Linked DNA regions of Homo sapiens: all the other regions are linked to region 1. Evidence: promoter capture Hi-C in 16 types of primary human blood cells and fetal thymus (Javierre and others, 2016). All regions are on one chromosome and are shown on one strand. Each heading gives the region's core, a stretch centred on a gene start or on the middle of the fragment in contact. The rest is flanking DNA. Distances are from core to core; before and after follow the strand shown.

Evidence for each region. Contacts are between HindIII fragments. The CHiCAGO score rates a contact against its expected background, and 5 or more counts as called.
Region 2: a contact is called between the fragment with the promoter of RGL3 here and the fragment with the promoter of KANK2 in region 1, in 2 of 17 cell types (M0 macrophages and neutrophils). The highest score is 7.6, in M0 macrophages.
Region 3: a contact is called between a fragment that was not itself captured here and the fragment with the promoter of KANK2 in region 1, in 1 of 17 cell types (endothelial precursors). The highest score is 6.8, in endothelial precursors.
Region 4: a fragment that was not itself captured here is called in contact with the fragment with the promoter of KANK2 in region 1 in 1 of 17 cell types (endothelial precursors); the score reaches 5.5 in endothelial precursors.

Annotation. Positions count from the first base shown.
Region 1 is chr19:11,196,269-11,198,821 of GRCh38, forward strand. It overlaps KANK2 (KN motif and ankyrin repeat domains 2), which reads right to left and starts at 1,277. Exons shown (of 13, transcript NM_001136191.3): 1 at 1,217-1,277. RefSeq lists a silencer at 1,141-1,760. The HindIII fragment of the contact is 22,502 bases long and covers 1-2,553 here.
Region 2 is chr19:11,418,028-11,420,580 of GRCh38, forward strand. It overlaps RGL3 (ral guanine nucleotide dissociation stimulator like 3), which reads right to left and starts at 1,287. Exons shown (of 19, transcript NM_001035223.4): 1 at 1,219-1,287; 2 at 644-757. The coding sequence starts at 1,251. The HindIII fragment of the contact is 8,157 bases long and covers 1-2,553 here.
Region 3 is chr19:10,986,502-10,989,054 of GRCh38, forward strand. SMARCA4 (SWI/SNF related BAF chromatin remodeling complex subunit ATPase 4) reads left to right here. Exons shown (of 35, transcript NM_003072.5): 4 at 1-92; 5 at 404-502; 6 at 1,165-1,423. Among named protein-coding and RNA genes, the nearest start is that of SMARCA4, 27 kb to the left of the region's middle. The HindIII fragment of the contact is 1,431 bases long and covers 554-1,984 here.
Region 4 is chr19:11,054,393-11,056,945 of GRCh38, forward strand. The region is part of intron 30 of SMARCA4 (SWI/SNF related BAF chromatin remodeling complex subunit ATPase 4); the gene reads left to right. Among named protein-coding and RNA genes, the nearest start is that of LDLR, 34 kb to the right of the region's middle. RefSeq lists an enhancer at 2,221-2,553. The HindIII fragment of the contact is 8,776 bases long and covers 1-2,553 here.

The sequences.
Region 1 (2,553 bases), core at 27-2,526:
GCTGGTCTCGAACTCCTGACCTCAGGTGATCCGCCCGCCTTGGCCTCCCAAAGTGCTGGGATTACAGGCATGAGCCACTGCACCCAGCCTAACATCAACTCTTTTAATTGTCATGACAATTCTATGAGATGGGCACTTATCGCCCCGTTTCACAGACAGGGGATGCAGAGGGTACAGAAAGGTACAGTGGCTTCCTCGGGGTCACTGGGGCCATGGGGAAGTGGCTGGGCCTGAACATGAACCTAAGCCTGGTGGATCCCCCCACTGCCCACCAAGCCACCACCCTCAGACTCCACATCAGATATCTCTACCCGTTTCCCAGATACGGAGACTGAGGTCTGAGGGTACTCAGTCATCTCACCGCCCTCGATGAGGACCAGCACGTCCCGAGTAAGGGGAAGAGAAAGGAGACGAGGGGGTGTGGTGGGGGAGATGGATGTCTGTGGCTGAGACCCTTCTCTCGCCATGGGACCCCTGGGGAATGGGGAAGGGGTGACAGGATAAGACAGAGATGGAGAGACTGGAGCCTATAAGAGGGGACAGGTAGGGAGCGCAGGGAAGGGGCGCGGGTCTCCCCAACCCACCACCCAAGACCGGCCTGCACATCGCGGAGGTCGGTGGTGGTGGTGGGGGGGGGTCTTCCCGCCCCAAACTCGGGGTGGGGGGAGGCGAGAAGGACCCCGCCCCGTGCAGAGAGGGGGCGGGGCCTGTGGGATCCCGGGCTAATGGCAAACAGCTGCCGCTCCCCACGCCGGCCCAGCCGCCAAGCCCAGGCCCAGCCCGGCCGGACGCCCGGCCGCCTTCCCGCCGTCTGGGGCATGGCCGCGGAGGAGGGCGAGGGGGGACAGTGCGGGGAGAGGGCAGAGCCGGGGAGGAACAGAGGCAGAAAGTGGGACAGAGACAGGGGAGAGCGGGCAGAGGGGAGCCAAGACAGGAGAAACGGGCAGGGCACGAGGAATCGATGGGGGGTACTGGGAGGAATCGATGGGGGTATGGGGTCAAAGACGAGGAGGGGGCAGGGACGCGGGGACAGACACTCCAAGTCTGGAAAGTTTGGGCACAGAAGGTGGAGTTGGAGGCAGCGGCTCGTTGAGACCAGCGAGGTCGTGTCCCAGGGTTGGAGGCGGGGGGTAGGGTAGTAGGTGTGTGTGGAGGGGGTGCACACTCGATCCCCGAACCAGACTTGAACCCCTACCCAGCCCCGGGTCCCACTCGCCTTGCGCGCTCCGGCCGCTGCCTTCCCTGGGTCCCGCCGCCCGAGCGTCTTCGCGCGCGCCGCAGCCTGGGCGCCCGGCCCTCGGAGGTGGCTCCGCCCGCACCACGCCCCCTCCGGCTGGTCCCGCCCCCCCAGCCGGCACCGCCCCCTCCAGCCGCCCGGGCGCCCCGGCCGCGGTGGGGGGTGGGGATGGAGAGACGCTGGTTGGAGACTGGATCTCACCTGGACAGCAGGTGTGTGTGCGCGCCGGGGTGTCCGGCCTCGTCCTTCCTTCCTCCCTAAGTCCCCGAGGCAGGGTCCTCCCACTGCCGGCCTCCCCCCCACCGCCTGCTGTCCCTGGGCCGCTGCGGGGGGCGGAACGGCTCGGCGGCGGGAGGGGGTGGAGCTGGCCGGGGCCCAGCTCGGGGAGGGCGCGCGGGGCGGGCGCGGCAGCGGGAGGTCACCCCTCCCCCAGGCGGCCCAGGGCTGGAAGCGGCCCAGCGCAGTCCTGGCACACGGTGGCGTGACCGCCGCGCGAGAAGGGAGGCTGCAGAGTCCTGGGCGCCGGCGCCAGCCAGACCTGCATTCCCATCCCAGACCCACCAAACTTTTGCTGCTCTGTGCCTCAGTTTATTCATCTGTAAAATGGAGATGATCATGTTAGCTACCTGATAGGAGCGTTGAGAAGATTCACTGACCATTAGGAAGGGGCCTAACCATCAGGAAGGAGGCCCTTCGGGTTAAAAACTCTCATAAATGGAGTGGCCTACTTTTGCAGAGATCTTTCTGGGAGCCCTTTTAGTACACAGCCAGCCACTCAGCAAGGGCTTAATAAATATTATTAAGCCGGCGAGGTGGCTCACACCTGTAATCTCAGTGCTTAGGGAGGCCAAGGCAAGAGGACTGCTTGAACTCAGGAGTTCGAGACCAGCCTGGGCAACATAGCAAGACCCTGTCTATGCAAAAAAATTTTTAAGTGAAAAAAAATTAGGCCAGGCGCAGTGGCTCATGCCTGTAATCGTAGCACTTTGGGAGGCCAAGGTGGGCGGATTATTTGAGCCAAGGAGTTGGAGACCAGCTTTGGCAATATGGTAAGACGCCATCTCTACAAAAAACAAAATACAAAAAACCACCTGGGGCCGAGAAATGGCTCATGCCTGTAATCCCAGCACTTTGGGAGTCCGAGGTGGGTGGATCATCTGAGGTCAGGAGTTCAAGACCAGCCTGGCCAACATGGTGAAACCCCTTCTCTACTAAAAATACAAAAACTATCCTGGCATGGTGGTGCACATCTGTAATCCCAGCTACTCGGGAGGCTGAGGTATGAGAATAACTTGAATCTGGGAGGTGGAGGTTGC
Region 2 (2,553 bases), core at 37-2,536, 220 kb after region 1:
TGTGTTGTCCAGGCTGGTCTCCAATTCCTGGCCTTCTGCCTTGGTCTCTCGAAGCGCAGGGATTATAGGTGTGTGCCCCACTCCCTGCCCGCTTGAAGTTATTGTTCCTCCCCATCCACAAATAGCTCCTGCAACTTGCCCTGGAAACCCTCCCTCTCCCATGCCCTGTCCCCTACTCCCTCTCCCGTCCCCTCCCCCTCCCGTCCCCTCCCCCCACCCCCCCGCCCCCGCCCCACACACTCTTTTCCACCCAGGGCTTCCCTCAGCCCTCCTGTCGCGCTTCACTGGCTGCCCCATCCGCCCTCACCTAGCCACTTCTAAACCAACCCCATTCCACCTTCCAGCCCCGGCCCTCTAAACCTGCCTTTCCCAACTCTGCCGTCCAGTTCTGTCCTTACCAAGTTGTCCCTAGGCTCCTCTCGGGAACTGCGCGGCCATCGCCTGGCCCCACCCCATTCCCTGGATCTCCCCCCACTTACCTGGCCGCCCCCAGTCCCCTTTCTACCTGGTCGCCTCATCTGGTCGCCTCCGAGCCCCTCCCTTCCTTCCGCCCACTGCACCTGGCGGCCTGTGCTCGGCTCTCCAGCTCCGCCCTCAACTGGTCGCTTCCGGCCCCGCGCCACCCACCAAACCCCCTCCTCACCTGGCTGCCCCCGGGGCCCTCCGCCGGGCTCCTGCGCTGACTGCGCTGCCGCCGCAGGGAGACACTGTACACCGCGCCGTCCTCGGTCTCTTCACCCCAGTCCTGCAGCGGTGCCTGGACGCACAGGCGGACTCAGGGCACCAAAGGGGCACAGGTCCTGGGGCCTCAGCCTCCTTGGCCGCTCGGACTCGGGCCGAGTCCTCCTGCTGCATCCCCACGCCCCTTCCCGGCCAGAAGCTGCGAGACTAGGGCTGGGGTCCCAGGCTAGTCCCCTCCTCGCTGCGGGTCCCCTCCTCCCAGGTCCTGAGGACATGGGGTGGCATTTGGGGATGTCCCAGGGCCCAGTCTAATAGAACCTGTCTCTAGCTCTTTCTGCCGACTGCGCTCAGAGACTCGCGCCCCCATCCCTAAGAGGAACCAGTCGCTTCACTGGGTCAAGGGCCGCGAGTCCCCAGGAGGGGACTCCAGGGCAAGTTCAGATTGGGAGCAGATACCGTCCGACGGGCGGGCGCTTGGAGTTTCTGGACCTGCGGGTCACCAGGGATGCGGGGTCCGGGGATCCCTTGTCCCCTTACCAGGGCCAGCTCTTTGCCTGCTGTGCGCTCCATGGCCGGCGCCCGTCCCTCTCAGTGGCGCCGCTGAGTGAGGCGGAAGGGCCGGCGGGTGGCGGGTGGCGGGCGGCGGGCAGTGGCCGGGCGCTGAGGCCAGAGGGGCGGAGCGGCCGAGCTGCTGGGGCGGGGCGGGGCAGGGCAGGCCGGACCCAGCCTCTGGGTGCCTCCAGCCGGACCCAGCGCCAGCCCAGGAGAGGTCCTGGCTCTTCCGCTGGGTGCCTATCAATCTGTCCCCAGAAGAAAGGACATATCTGTCCCCAAGGGGTCTTTTTTGTATCCCCAGATGTGGGGGAGCTCCTGTGTGGGGGCATGTGTGTGTCCCCAGACCAGAGTCCTCTGTCCTCCAGTGGAAGGGGCTAGCTTGATCAAGTGTGGGGGCATCTTCCACTTTTTATTATTATTGCTATTATTTTGAGATGGAGTCTCGTTCTGTCACCCATGCTGGAGTACAGTGGCTTGATCTTAACTCACTGCAACCTCCGCCTCCCAGATTCAAAGGATTCTTGTGCCTCAGCCTCCCAAGTAGCTAGGATTACAGGTGCCGCCACCATGCTCAGCTAATTTTTGTATTTTTTGTAGAGGCGGGGTTTTGCCATACTTGCCAGGCTGGTCTCAAACTCCTGGCCTCAAGAGATTCGCCCACCTCAGCCTCCCAAAATGCTGGGATTACAGGCATGAACCACGGCGCCCAGCCTTATTATTTTTTAGAGACAGGGTCTCACTCCTGTTGCCAAGGCTGCAGTGCAGTGGCTTGATCTTGGCTCACTGCAATCTCCGCCTCCTGGGTTCAATCCATTCTCCTGCCTCAGTCTCCCAAGTAGCTGGGACTACAGGCATATGCCACCATGCTCAGCTTTTTTTTTTTTTTTTTTTTTTTTTTTTTTTTTTTTGGTAAAAACTGGTTTTCACCATGTTGCCCAGGCTAGTCTGGAACCCCTGGGCTCAAGCGACACACCCAGCTCAGCCTCCCAAAGTGCTGGGAATATAGGTATGAATGAGCCACTGCACCCCGCCCTTATTTTATTTATTGAGACAGGGTCTGGCTCTGTGGCCCAGGCTGGAGTGCAGTAGCACGATCATAGCTCACTGCAGCCTGGAGCTCCTGGACTCAAGTGATCCTCCCAACTCAGCCTCCCAAAATACTGGGATTACAGGCATAAAACCACTACATCGGGCCATCTCCCATTTTTAAGCTCCATCTGCGTCACTAGCTGATGGGAGTCATCATGACCCAGGTTGGAGGAGGCAGTCTGTGGCCCTGGGTTTTCAGGGACAGCCGTCTCTTGGGTGGTGCAGGGT
Region 3 (2,553 bases), core at 19-2,518, 210 kb before region 1:
CTCGGTGTCCGCAACAGGACCCGGCCCTGGCCCTGGCCCTGGCCCCGGCCCGGGTCCCGGCCCGGCACCTCCAAATTACAGCAGGCCTCATGGTAAGACTGGCTGCCCTGGCCCTCAGGTGTCTCAGAGCGAATGGCTGGGGCGTGGGTGGCGGGGTGGACAGACCGTGCTCTGTTGCCGACTGGGTTCCCCGGTTTGGGATTGCACGGGCCCATACTGCACTTCTGGGTGCTCGGGTGGTGGGGGCAGCTAAATGCTGCTTCCCCAGCTCCCCGCTTCCCCTGGGGCCGCTGGTTAATAGGTGTATCTGCTGTGTCCCCTGGAGCCAGGGCTGCCCACGGGGCTGGGCGCAGGCATAAACCTGGGACGCACTGTTTTCTCTTTTGTTTCTCCCTACATGTAGGTATGGGAGGGCCCAACATGCCTCCCCCAGGACCCTCGGGCGTGCCCCCCGGGATGCCAGGCCAGCCTCCTGGAGGGCCTCCCAAGCCCTGGCCTGAAGGTGAGCTCCCTCTTCTATGGTGGTGCACCCGTGCCCTTACTCCCCATCTCAAGCTTGGGTCCTTGAGATGAGCTTTGTCAGGGAGAAAGGGCCGAGGGTGGTCAGGCTGAACTGCAGCCTGTACTTTTCTTGTGGTGGTCCCCGGGTCTCCCCTGTAGCCAGTCAGTTCCCAAAGGCTGTCGTTCATCCCTCCTCTGACAGCTTGTGGCCTTCACCCAGTCCCTGAGCCCTGTATATGTAATTGCTCAGTAAGTGCTGCAGGCTCCCATCTGTTGGGCTCAAAGAGGCAGTGGGACTCATTACCCATCCTCTTGGAGCCTGAGGTTTAGCGATGGGCATTGAGGGGCAAATTGCTTCCACTGGATTTAGTTGGCACTAGGAGGAGATGACAGGAAATGCTGCCATAGAGCCACAGACAGAACAAAAAGGCCTTGGGAGCCTGGGGCTGGCCCCAGTGGAGGGTGTGAAGGACGAGGGTGAGGCTGAGATCTGGAGGAGGTTGGAGCCCAAGGCAGGTGTGAAGGACACCCCTGGGTGAAAGGTGGGAGATGGGCGGGGTCTGCCTGTCCCCAGTGCCTCAAGCAGCTCAGCAGCTTTCCATTTCCAGCCCGGGATGGGCCCCAGAGCTCAACATGACGCCCTGGCCCCTTGCCTTCTCCCAGGACCCATGGCGAATGCTGCTGCCCCCACGAGCACCCCTCAGAAGCTGATTCCCCCGCAGCCAACGGGCCGCCCTTCCCCCGCGCCCCCTGCCGTCCCACCCGCCGCCTCGCCCGTGATGCCACCGCAGACCCAGTCCCCCGGGCAGCCGGCCCAGCCCGCGCCCATGGTGCCACTGCACCAGAAGCAGAGCCGCATCACCCCCATCCAGAAGCCGCGGGGCCTCGACCCTGTGGAGATCCTGCAGGAGCGCGAGTACAGGTGAGGGCGGGGCCCAGTTGCCAAGGTCACTGCCCTGTGTCCCCCATGTCCCCCTGGGGAAGCCACTCAACTTTCTCCCCCACTCTAGCAAACAGTGCCCTGTGCCCACCACTGCCACTTGGCCTACACCTCCTTCCTCACCTCCCTGCTCCCACCCTGGCTGCGGTCTGTTTCCCACACAGCAGTTTGAGTTCTCTCTCTTTTTTTTTTTTTGAGACGGAGTTTCACTCTTGTTGCCCACGCTGGAGTGCAATGGCACAATCTCGGTTCACTGCAACCTGCATCTCCTGGCTTCAAGCGATTCTTCTGCCTCAGCCTCCTGAGTAGCTGGGATTATAGGCATGCGCCACCACACCTGGCTAATTTTGTATTTATTTTAGTAGAGGCAGGGTTTCTCCATGTTGGTCAGGCTGGTCTCGAGCTCCTGACCTCAGATGCTCCCAAAGTGCTGGGATTACAGGCATGAGCCACCGCACCTGGCATGAATTCTCTTTTTATGATTGATATCAGATCTACTCCGTGGATTAAAACCTGCCTGTAGCTTCAATTATCTGCCCAATAAGCTTTGCCTTATGTCCACTCCTGCCCAGCATCCTTCCTCACCCATCCCAGTCTCTCTGTTCCTCTTTTCATTTATTTAACAAGTTAGACTTGTTCCTGCCCCAGGACCTTTGCACAGGCTGTGCATGGCTCCTTCTACTCATTCAGGCCTGATTGCTGGGGTTCCCTCCTCATGGAGGCCCTTCCTGTCACTTCCAGCCACTCTCTGGAATTGCAGTGGATATTTTATTTTTTTTAAATCTCCTTTATGGCCTGTGTTTTCTAATGAGACTGAGAGTTCCTTGCTTTGTTGTTCTTGTTTAGTGCTAAGGCCCTGCACTTAAAATGGTCCCTGGCATACAGTTGGTGCTCAATGAGTATGTGCAGAAAGACTGATTAAGAGAATTAGCCCACATAACCTTCGCATGTAACCTTCGTAACCTTCAGACCAAGCCTCTAGGGTCACTCCGAGGGGTTGCCTCAGTTTTGAGGTGAGAATGCTGAGGTGTGCAGTTGAAATAGATTCCCACCGCCCTGCGCCTCATCCATGCCAGAGCTGCATGAAAACCTTGGCCCGCCTGACGCCAGAA
Region 4 (2,553 bases), core at 39-2,538, 140 kb before region 1:
TCCCCTGTGTGTTTCTGCATCATCAACTTGAAGAAGCAGCCAACCTCGGCCCAGGATCATCCCTGGGGGAAGGACTGACAGGAGCGCATCTTTAGCCTCATGCTTAAGATCTGTGCATTGGGCCAGGTGCGGTGGCTCAGCCTGTGATCCCAGCACTTTTGGGAGGCCAAGGTGGGTGGATCAGGAGGTCAGGAGTTCGAGACCAGCCTGACCAACATGGTGAAACCCGTCTCTACTAACAATACAAAAATTAGCTAGGTGTGGTGGTGCACCTGTAATGCCAGCTACTTGGAGGCTGAGGCAGGAGAATCGCTTGAACCCTGGAGGCAGAGGTTGCAGTGAGCCGAGATCACGCCACTGCATGATGTGTGCATTGGTGTTAAGTCAGCTATTAAGAGGTGTGGGCTGGGTGTGTGTGGGGGTCAGAGGAGGTGATGTTTGCCCTGAGATGAGGTCAGAGCCCACATTCCCATGGGGGTGGACTCCCCTTTGTAGGCCTTGACACGAGCATGGGAGCGGAGCTAGGGGCACTGACATCAAAGGTGGTGGCGCCTATCCAGAGGACTCCGGGTTTCATTCCAAGTGCGGGGAGGCTGCAGCATGTCCCTCTTTAATATAGAGGTGAGGGAGGCTCTCAGCACCCTGCCTGTTGCAGGGAAGCCTGAGGACAGGACCTCCAGGGAACTCTGCACCAGAGCGGAATCCTCAGACCGGCAACTGGGTGGTCTTGATTCATCCAGAACGTAATTCTCCTAGAGGTCTGGGAAGGGGTGCTCTTGTACCTTGGTTTTGTGTTTTGTTTTTGTTTGTTTTTTGAGACAGAGTCTCACTCTGTCGCCCAGGCTAGAATGCAGTGGTGCGATCTCGGCTCACTGCAACCTCTGCCACCCAGGTTCAGGTGATTCTCCTGCCTCAGCCTCCCGAGTAGCTGGGATTGCAGGTGCCTGTCACCACGCCTGGCTCATTTTTGTATTTTTAGTAGAGACGGGGTATCACTATCTTGGCCAGGCTGGTCTTGAACTCCGGACTTCGTGATCCACCCACCTCAGCCTCCCAAAGTTCTGGGGTTACAGGCGTGAGCCACTGCGCCCAGCCGCACCTTGTTTTTTTTTTGCTGCCTGTAGCTGTTTCTCATTAGCCTGATGGAGGTGGCTGTTGGGGTGGTGGGGTGCTTATTATAAAGCCTTCTGCTGTCACAGCCCTGGGGTCTCACTTCCTGGGCTCTCTGCATAGGGAGCCGCCCTCCAGGGCAAGGGCCACAGTGTGCAGTAAGCCCCCCATGGCCACAGGGCAGGGCGTTTCAAGCCAAGAGTCTGCACTGTTTGCTGGCCACTAAGGGCATTGAATGGATCACAAAACTGGCTTTTTTTTCCCCCAGTCAAATAGAAATGGGGTTTTGCCATGTTGTCCAGGCTGGTCTCAAACTCCTGGGCTCAAGCAATCCTCCCACGTTGGCCTCCCAAAGTGCTGGGATTACAGGCACGAGCCACCATATCTTTAAAAATGTAATAGAATGGAAAATGGCAAAGCGCGCTGCTTTTCATAGAAGAGACTATCGCATTGGGGTTCTTCTGTTGCCCCTGCCTGTGCTGCACGTCCTGCTTCACAGTGTAAAGCGCAACTCTTGCTGTGCCTTATTGTAACAGGTATAGGGTGGATGCTGCCATCATGAAGAGAGAGGAGAGCTCTTTGCTTATAAAATTCCGTAGAGTGGAGAACAGGATGTGCCGGCTTAGGAGAGGGAAGAGGTACAGGCCCGCTCTGCCCGAGCTGCAGATGGGACACACATTTCCCGACTCAGAGGGGAGTCGTGTCTTTCTCCAGGGTCACCGAGCAGCAAGCGCATCCACTGTGTGTTCTTATTTTCTGAGCCTGTGGACTGGGTTTACCAACAGTTGCCTGTGGCAGAGCCGGCCACCAGCCCGCTCATAGGAAAAAGGAAGCCTGTGCCTCCAGGGAGGGCCCACGATGGGAATGCAGTCTGAGAAGGGTATGTGCTCCCATGCTGGACCGGCTGGTCCCACACCCAGGACCAAAAACACCTCCTGGCAGGAGATGGGGAGATGTACTTCATGAACACACGTTGGGGAAGGACACTCCTGGAAGGCAGAGGCTCAAGGCGGGCTGTGTCCAGGCCAGGAGATTCACTCCCACCTCAATTTCCTCCTCAGCACGGCTGGCCTGGCACTGGTGCCTGCTTCAGAGTTTAGTGTGTGTAAAGTGTGGCTGGCCCAGCAAGCAGGGGATGATGGCGGTTGTCAAGGCCAGGGGAGGTGCAGGGACAGGATTCTGGCTCCCGTGTGTAACGTCTGCATCTCAGGAGGCTCTCATGTTAGAAGCTGGGTCAGGGGCTTCGTGATGCACACAAACACCAAACAAGCAGGAGGCCTTCCGGGATCCTGCTCACGAGCAGCTTCCTGGAGGCAAGCCTGGCCCGTCTGCCCCTTGGTGACATCAGGACCCCAGCAACAGAACCAGGGAAGCCACCATGTTGTCGCTGCCATTTTCCAGCGTGGTAAACAGAAGCAAGACAAGGCGCACTCAGGACACCCA